Regions from separate parts of the Homo sapiens genome. Here region 2 is linked to region 1. Evidence: promoter capture Hi-C in human tissues and cell types (Jung and others, 2019). All regions are on one chromosome and are shown on one strand. The core of a region is centred on a gene start or on the middle of the fragment in contact, and the rest is flanking DNA. Distances in the headings are between cores, read along the strand shown.

Region 1 (4,227 bases), core at 727-3,226:
GCTTTTGTCATTACTTTTGCATAAACTCAGACCACATACCTAAAGGTGCCATGCAAACAAAACCACCATTAAGCCAGTGCATACCAGTGGCTAAATAAGTGCAAAAGAGGAATTGGAAAAGAAGCACCTGGGGTACCCTGGAAAGAGACATTGGAGCCTTCTTCAGACGGGCCAAGCATTCCCTTTTCCAGCAGGAGGGGCGCTGCCTCCCCCCAGCCTAGCCCATGCCCTTGGTGGCTACCTTGCTGGGCCGTCTAAGAACCTGGCTCCAGGCTCCAGTTTCTCCACTTATTCCGAGGTGAGAAGCAGGTGACTCAGGGGAGGTTGCTCCCCAGCACGCTGCGTTCTTGGCTGGGAATGACTCACTACCTCGTTCCCTCCTTCACGAGTGACCCGGGGCCAATCCCTTAATGTGTCTACACCTTCTCATCAGACCGGGACAATTGCCTGGTGGAGTTTTTGGCTCCCCAGGGGCAGGGCTCCTGTCTGCCACCGTTCACGTTCCTAGTGAGGCTGTTGATAGGGTCTGGAGGAGCGTAAAATCCTCGGGTAGATCCAAGGCCCCAGGCCCTCCCCGTGCACCGAAAGAGGGTTTTAATGCCAGTGCTTCTGCGGTCTTCTAAAGGTAGAGCCGTTCAACAGCATTTTGTACCGAATACAATTCGCAAGCATTCCTGTCTTGGAGAATTTTCTTTTGGGTATCTCCTTGTTGTAAAAACTTGCTTGGAAAAAAAAAAAAGCAACTGGAGCAGGCCTCCAAAGACAGCAAAGCAGGGACCAGAGGCTCTGCGGAGAGCGCGGGAGGAGGCTGACCAAGGGGCCTCCGTTGCTGGGGGGACCTGGGCGGCTGGACGCCGGGGTCAGTACGCTGCTCGCCCCGCGCAGCCGAAAGCGGGCGTGGTGTCGCGGGGAGAGGATGCCCGGCAGCAGTGTGGCCGGCGGGCTGGGGGTACTCGCCCGGGTCAGAGACCTCAGCCCGCGCCAAGGCGCCCCACACTTTCCAGCGCAGCGGGTCGCAGCCCGGAGACGCCGGGCGTCCCCACCTCCAGCCTCCCGAGCTGCAGCGGCGCCCGCGGTTCTCCCCCGACCCGCCAGGTGGACCCGGACTGGCGCACCCTGCTTTCCGCCCGGGACCCTCCCCCGAGCCCTGGCTGCCTCCGCGCCCCGCCCCGCCCGGAGCCCGCAGCCGGCGCCCCGGATTACCTGCCCCGGAGTCACAGTCCGCAGCCCGGACGCTCCCAGGGTGGCTCCGCGGAGCCTGGAGCCACATTCCTAGGGGAGGGGTCCCCACCTAGAGGGTCGCGGATCACGTTACCCGCCCGGAGGAGGAGACCGCGGGACACAGAGTAAACAAGGGGTAAAAAGTTGCATTTGGCTCAATTTTTTTTTTTAAATCGTGCTTCGACGCTGGTGGACTCGGGGACACGGCGTCCTCCCAGTTCCCGGAGCCCAACGGCCCCGGGGCGGTTTCCCAGGGCAGAGGCACCTCTCCGGGCGGCGGGTGCGGAGCTGGTCTGCGCGGCCTCTGAAGGCGACCCCGGCCGCTCGCGGGCTTCCTGGAAGCGCGGCCGCAGGAGCAGAAACGCTCACATCCACGCGCACAAATAAATCCGCGAGCAGCTCCGCGCCGCGCCGCGGGCGGCAAGGAAACCTCGGGTTGATTCAATGCAGACGCGGGGCGTCTGCCCGGGCAGGAACGCGGCGAGGCGAGAGGACCGGGCGTGGGGGCAGGGAGGCCGGGGCAGGAGAAAGGGAGAAAACCCCAAAGCCACGTTTTAAAAATGCGGGTGAATTTTCAATGCCGTCAGCCCGGGGGAGGGGAAGGGGCCAGCTGCGGGCGCCGGGGTCGGCAGTCCACCCGGGGCAACTTTCCGGGCGGGAGGCGCGGCCGGAGGGGGCGGCGCCGGCGGCGGGAGGCGGGAGTCGGGGGCCGGGGGGAGTCACTTTAAAGGCTCTTTCTTACCCATAATGCTTTGTGGGGACGTTGACAAGTGGATCCAAGATGGCGTAGAAAGTAATGACAGGTAAGTCCTGACTTCCCCCTTCTCTGCTCCTGGGGCCGCTCCGCGAGCTCCCGGAGCTCTCCGGGGAGGGGACCCGACTCCCCTCCGGTGTCCCGGACCCCGGGCGCGGCGGCCCCGGGGCAGGCTGGGGGCCTGGGCGGCCCGCGGCTGGGCCTGGGAAGCGCGGCTCTTCGAGGCGAGGCCCGGACGCTGGGGCTGTTTACAGCTTCTTCCCCTACTTAGTCCCCTTCCCCTCCGCTGGGGCCCGCAGCGTCCTGGGCCCTGGCAGGAGAGGGGGCCTTGCACGCCTGGCCCGGGAGCCTGCGGGAGGTTTCTCCGGCCCAGAGCACTCTGGGAGGGGGACTCGAGCCTCCCGGCACGTTCCCCTCCTCCGGGTCGCGGCTGGGGGTGGGGAGCGTGCGGGCCTCCCACGCCCCGCTCGATGCCCCCCCTCAGGCCTCGGACTTCCACCGGGTGGGGTGGGGGCTGGAGCGGGGGCGTGGGGAAAAGTGGGTCAGGCGTGCGCCCCCTCCCTCCCCCGCGGAGGGCTCTCGGCCCGAGATTCACTTTCTTCCCCCCTTTCCCCGCCCCCTCCTCGGAAATGCTCTTTGGCCCACAAGCACATCAACAAAAATAAAGATAGGCTCTCTTTTCCTGGAGATTCCTTGAGAGTACTCCAGTACCCTTTTCAAGGGCTCACAGACTGCAGTCTTACCTAGGGAACTTCGATTCCTCTCCCCTAAATTATTGGAGCCTTCTGCACCCTCGCCTTTGCTGAGAAATCTTCAGACAGGGCTGGAAGCCAGGGTCCTCTGATTGTTCTTGGATCGGGATCCTCAGGTTTTGTTTGCAGTTCAAAAATTGTCATTCCTTCTCCCTCACAACTTAACACTTCTCAGGCAAATCATTAATATAATAAAAAGTGTAACTTCAGAGACAGTGGATTCCTGGAGCGGGGGAAGGAGGGAGGAGTTGTCTGTCTTGCCTAGTTTGTTCTTAATTTTGCTCTCTCTTAAACTCATATTAATGAAATTTCCTCTCCTTCATTTCTTTATGTTTTTGAAAGTAAGGTCAGTCTGTGTTGAAAAAGATGATTTTATTATGTTTTTGAGTTTTAAGAGCATTGTATAATCTATTCTTTTACCTTACTGAAAGGAAATGTTTTAAGGTCAAAAACCAGACTCATTTGCAAAGCTGCACACTGTACCATTTTTGTAACTTTTTCCATTTTAAATGTAGATGCCCTTTCACTTCAGGCTGATAAAATGTTTGCTACTGATAATGTCTGTTACTGGTGTTGTATGGAAACATCTTTTCTATTTGCCTCAGGATTTGGATGAAGTAATGGATCACTAATGAACTACAGTGCTGGTGAGATGTGTAAGGTGAGACTGCAGTTAAAAATGATTTCCTTTTTTTCCTTCTTTATTTTAATCAACTGGTAAGAGTAAGGCTGAAACTGAGTAATTTGATGGGGCCATCTTTGTTTTCCAAATGTATCACTCAGTCAGTGGGTCTATGGGCAGGGCTAGATTTAGAAAGGAAAAATATGTTGAATGTACCAATCTTTTCAGTTGCTCCAACATACTCAAACATAGTGGTACTTAACTAAGAGCCAAATGTTACTTGCAGCTATTCTTGATCAGTATCTTCACCAGGGATAATTATAGTTTGCCTATTCAAATTTTCTTGCGTAACTTTACTTGGATGTCTTAATTTTATTTGTGTTTTGGTGTCTATCACCTACTGTACGTTTAGTCCCGGTGATTATGTATATGGATTTTGTGTGTACCTGGTTTGTGGGACTCGTAAAGTATACCCTTTCCGTTAGAAAGAATTAGGCAGGTCAATCACTCCTGCTTTTATTTTCTGAAAAATGGAGTAGTACTTTTCTCTTTAATAATTATTTTGAAATAAAGATGATAGTGTTGAGATCTGTTTAGCTTATTAGGAAATAGACTAGTTTGTCATTATGTCCTGATCACACACGGTGTGTGAATTTATTCAAAGTGCTTTATTTAATCTAATTTGTAATGCTTTGGATTTAAAGGATATTATTGATACAGTGTTAGTGAATAGTTTTCTGTGCTATAGAGAGGAAGAGAAGTTTGCTACTTTTACATTTTTCACGAGTTTTCTCAACTTAAAATGTTTTACTAAGTTTTTTTTTAGAAAAATAATAAGTAATTGTGGTCGATTGGTTACTGTAGTTTTTTTTTTGTTG
Region 2 (4,266 bases), core at 925-3,424, 600 kb before region 1:
TGGAAATACAGTTTATATACTACTTACGGATGAATACATACATGAACTAGTAGTTAATATCACCACTAGAATATAATCTCCTTAACGACAGGGATTTTTTAAGTTTGCCAATGTTAAGTAGTGGCTAGCATATAATAAGCTATTAAATAAACATTTATTACAAGAATTAGTAGTTTTGAAAGTGCTAGCCCATGCACTTACACAAGAAAATGATATCCTTGCATTATCTGACAACATTAGAAATGTGTTTTGATTTCTACGTAAGTAAATACAGGACTACAGTGAGAAGCCTTAAAACAGTGGTTCTCAAACTTCAGAGTGCATATGTCACTGATTCAATAGGCCTAGAATAGAGTCTGAGAACCTGAATTTTTTTTTTTCTGAGATGGAGTCTTGCTCTGTTGCCCAGGCTGGAGTGCAGTGGCACGATCTCAGCTCACTGCAACGTCTGTCACCTAGGTTCAAGTGATTCTCCTGCCTCAGCCTCCCGAGTAGCTGGGACTACAGGTGCCCACCACCATGCCCGGCTAATTTTTTTTGTATTTTTAGTATAGAAGGGGTTTCCCCATGTTGGCCAGGCTGGTCTCAAACCCCTCACCTCAAGTGATCCACCCGCCTTAGCCTCCCAAAGTTATGGGATTACAGGTGTGAGCCACCACGCCCAGCCGAGAACTTGCATTTCTAACAATTCCCAGGTTGTGCTGTTCTGGCGAACCATACTCTGAGAAACACCTCCCTATATCCTGATAGGTTATTTTCCCTAAGATCCAGATAAGTAAAAATTAATACACATTAGATGAAATTCCAGAAGTTACCTTCAAACCTTGCTATTCATTGAATGTCATGAAAATACTGGAAAAACAAACAAAAAATAAAAAACAAAAAACTTGCTACTCGACAAGTGACTGGCATTATCATGTTTGAGAGAAATTCAGAATCTCAGGCCCAAGCCCAGGCCTACTAAATTAGGATCTGCAGTTTCTCACGATCTTCAGGTGATTTATATGGTCACTGAAGTTTGAAAAGCTGCCCTGAAATGGAGGTGCAGCAAAAATCATCTGGTAAATTGTTAAAAGTAATCTCAAATGCAACCCAAATTCACAGAACCCCAGGTGAAGCTCAGTAATCTATATTTTTATCCTTCTCCCCAAATGATTCTGATGTGCGGCAAGTTTGAAAACCACTACTTTAAAGAAAATGGATACTCCCCTTACCAAGCAGAAAGGGTTTTGGAAACTCATGCAAGGGAAGCAAAAAGATGCCTCAGGAGGCACGATTACAACAGGATTGATGCAAAGGGAAGCTGAAGCTTAACCAAAGACATTAATGTACGCCCACAAAAGAAACTGCTAAGGAAGTCAAGTGGTCTGCATGAATTCTGAAGAAAAATGGAGAATCAAAGAACAAAATTTGTCAATGAATTTCCAGCACAGTCTAGGTTAAGGGAGTGAATTTCCTGACTGAATGGCAAACTCTGGACCACCTGATAGCTTATTACCTCGACGGAGTAATTATGTTACAATGTATAGGTATTCTAATTAGAATGACCTGGCAGTTATTGAGACAAAATTTTCTGCTCCTTTGTATTCTGTAACACAAAAGGGATCTACATGGATGTTCTCTTCTCTGAACTGTTCGGATGAACTGGTCAACAGCACTCATCATGCCTTGGTTTTTAAATACGCACTGTAGTCATAATCTGTTAATTAATTTCTCATATTTTTAATTTTAAAAAAAAGTTTGCCTACATATTTTAGACAGAAATTGCCTTACTTTGCTGAAATTCTGAGAAACCCTAGACAGTTTTCAAGGCCGGGCTCAAATGTCACCTCTACTACCCTTTGCTGTGCCTCCAGGTGCTGTGCTTCTGACACTTTGTACGGTCCTCCATGACAGCGTGAGCACAATTATATTACAGGCAATTACTCATGCCCCCTGGCTCATTTGTTGACTCCTTTAGAGGACAGATCATGTTTTAGTTATTGTAGCAACTAAAAAAATATTTGTTCAACCAATGACACCCATAAACAAAACTACCTGCCGAGGGCAGAGATGCAGGGGTAAAGTCATGCCAAGATCAAATCCCAGAAACCACTGTCGATTTTTTAGAGTTGACCCCTACATTTATTGTACTAATTCAAAAAAAAAAAAGAATTTACAGTGTTTTCAGACTTCTAGACCTCAAAAGGCAACTCTCTATATAATGTGTGTTTCTAGAAGGAAAAAATGTAACATTGTCCCCTTATTTCTGATTGGTATCTGAGAGAAAGTGGCCTCACTCGGTATTGGTATAGAGAAGGGGGAAGTTCATTTCCAGCCGAAGTTAATACTCCAGAACTAATAAAATCTAATTATTTAATCTACTGTTACATATATATAAACCATGAATGGCACATCAAGAAGAAATAACCTGTGATGCATTGAAATCTTTTAAAAATTATGAAACTTAGTTGTCAAATGTAACAAGGATTCACCTTTTCATGTGGAATAGTGTCCCAATCTAGCATTAACGTTATTACTGAACAAGGTTATGCTCTTCCAGTACATTCCATTTGCCCCCAATCCCTATCTTCTGTGTCAGTAATAATATAAAAATCAGCAGCTAGCTTTTATAGAGTGCTTTCTTTTTTCTTTTTTTTTTTTTTTTTGAGACGGAGTCTGGCTCTGTCGCCCAGGCTGGAGTGCAGTGGCGCAATCTAGGCTCACTGCAAGCTCTGCCTCCTGGGTTCAAGCCATTCTCCTGCCTCACTCCCAAACAACTGGGATTACAGGTGCCCACCACCACACCCGGATAATTTTTTTTTTTTTTTAGACGGAGTCTCACCCTGTCACCCACGCTGGAGTGCAGTGGCGCGACCTCTGCTCACTGCAAGCTCTGCCTCCCCGGTTCACGCTATTCTTCTGCCTCAGCCTCCCGAGTAGCTGGAATTACAGGCATGTGCCACCACGCCCGGCTAATTTATTATTTTTAGTAGAGATGGGGTTTCACCATGTTGGCCAGGCTGGTCTCGAACTCCTGACCTCAGGTGATCCACCCACCTCGGCTTCCCAAAGTGCTGGGATTACAGGTGTGAGCTAACACGCCTGGCCTAGAGAGTGCTTTCTATTTGCCAGACATTGTGCTAAGTAAGCATTTTAAAGTGCATTATCTTATTTTTATCCTCAGATCAACTCCATAAAATAGATACCATTATTACTTCCTTTCAAAGATGTTTATAGAGAGGCTAAATGACTTGTCCAAGGTCACAGCCAGTACCACTAAGAGTTACAACCAACACAGGTCCCAAATAAAACAAAAAAACAACAACAAACCCACAAGTCCAGCTGGGCTTGGTGGCTCATGCCTGTAATTCCAGCACTTTGGGAGGCCAAGGCGGGTGGATCACTTGAGGTCCGGAGTTTAGGACCAGCCTGGCCAACATGGCGAAACCCTGTCTCTACTAAAATAACAAAAATTAGCTGGGTGTGGTGACGTGTGCCTGTAATCCCAGCTACTCCAGAAGCTGAGGCACTAGAATTGCTTGAACCCAAAGGGCAGAGGTTGCAGTGAGCCCAGACTGTACCACCGCACTCCACCCTAGGCGACAGGGACCCTGTCTCCAAACAAACAAACAAACCCACACAAGTCCTAAGCTATGGTCTTTACTACTATATTAGACTTCCTCCCATATTGTTAAAAACCACCTGACTTGACCTCTCAGTGAAAGGGAATTTGAGAAATAACAAGTGCCTATTGTGCAGGTGGGAGAAATGACAGATAAAGGAGACAAATCAGTGAAGTGACAATGTTATAAAGTATGAGACCTGAACAAAAATTTCAGGTGCTTACTTAATAGCCATGTGTCTCGTGGCTACCATACAGGACAGTACACATACAGAATATTTCCATCATCACAAAAAGTTCTATTGGACAGCCCTGGTCTAGAGATACATCTAGGGACTACCACACAATAAGTGAAGTTCAAATAACCCACTGGGTTGTCAACACAAAGCTAAAATACATTCAGTATCCTCTATGCTGCCCAGGCTGCTCTAAAACTGCTGGGCCCAAGTGATCCTCCTACCTCAACCTCCCAAAGTGTGGGAATTACAGGTGTGAGCCACCATGCCCAGCCTATATTTTTAAAACTTTTCTGAATGTTTGGACTATTTTATAATTATTTTAATGGGATAACTTCTTTTATATTTGAAAGATTTATTTACAGAAGATTGCCACTAAATACAATGGTTCATCAACCACTAGTGAATGTTACCCTATATTCAAGA

Evidence for each region. Contacts are between HindIII fragments. The study calls those that stand out against the background at their distance.
Region 2: a fragment that was not itself captured here is called in contact with the fragment with the promoter of HELZ in region 1 in 1 of the 25 tissues and cell types used here (heart left ventricle).

Annotation. Positions count from the first base shown.
Region 1 is chr17:67,242,945-67,247,171 of GRCh38, reverse strand. It overlaps HELZ (helicase with zinc finger), which reads left to right and starts at 1,976. Exons shown (of 33, transcript NM_014877.4): 1 at 1,976-2,024; 2 at 3,333-3,388. It overlaps HELZ-AS1 (HELZ antisense RNA 1), which reads right to left and starts at 2,396. Exons shown (of 4, transcript NR_136398.1): 1 at 1,964-2,396. RefSeq lists silencers at 959-1,158, 1,169-1,258, 1,809-2,298, 2,399-2,448 and enhancers at 778-1,764, 1,765-2,752. The HindIII fragment of the contact is 25,130 bases long and covers 1-4,227 here.
Region 2 is chr17:67,846,057-67,850,322 of GRCh38, reverse strand. The region is part of intron 1 of BPTF (bromodomain PHD finger transcription factor); the gene reads right to left. Among named protein-coding and RNA genes, the nearest start is that of BPTF, 23 kb to the right of the region's middle. The HindIII fragment of the contact is 3,640 bases long and covers 355-3,994 here.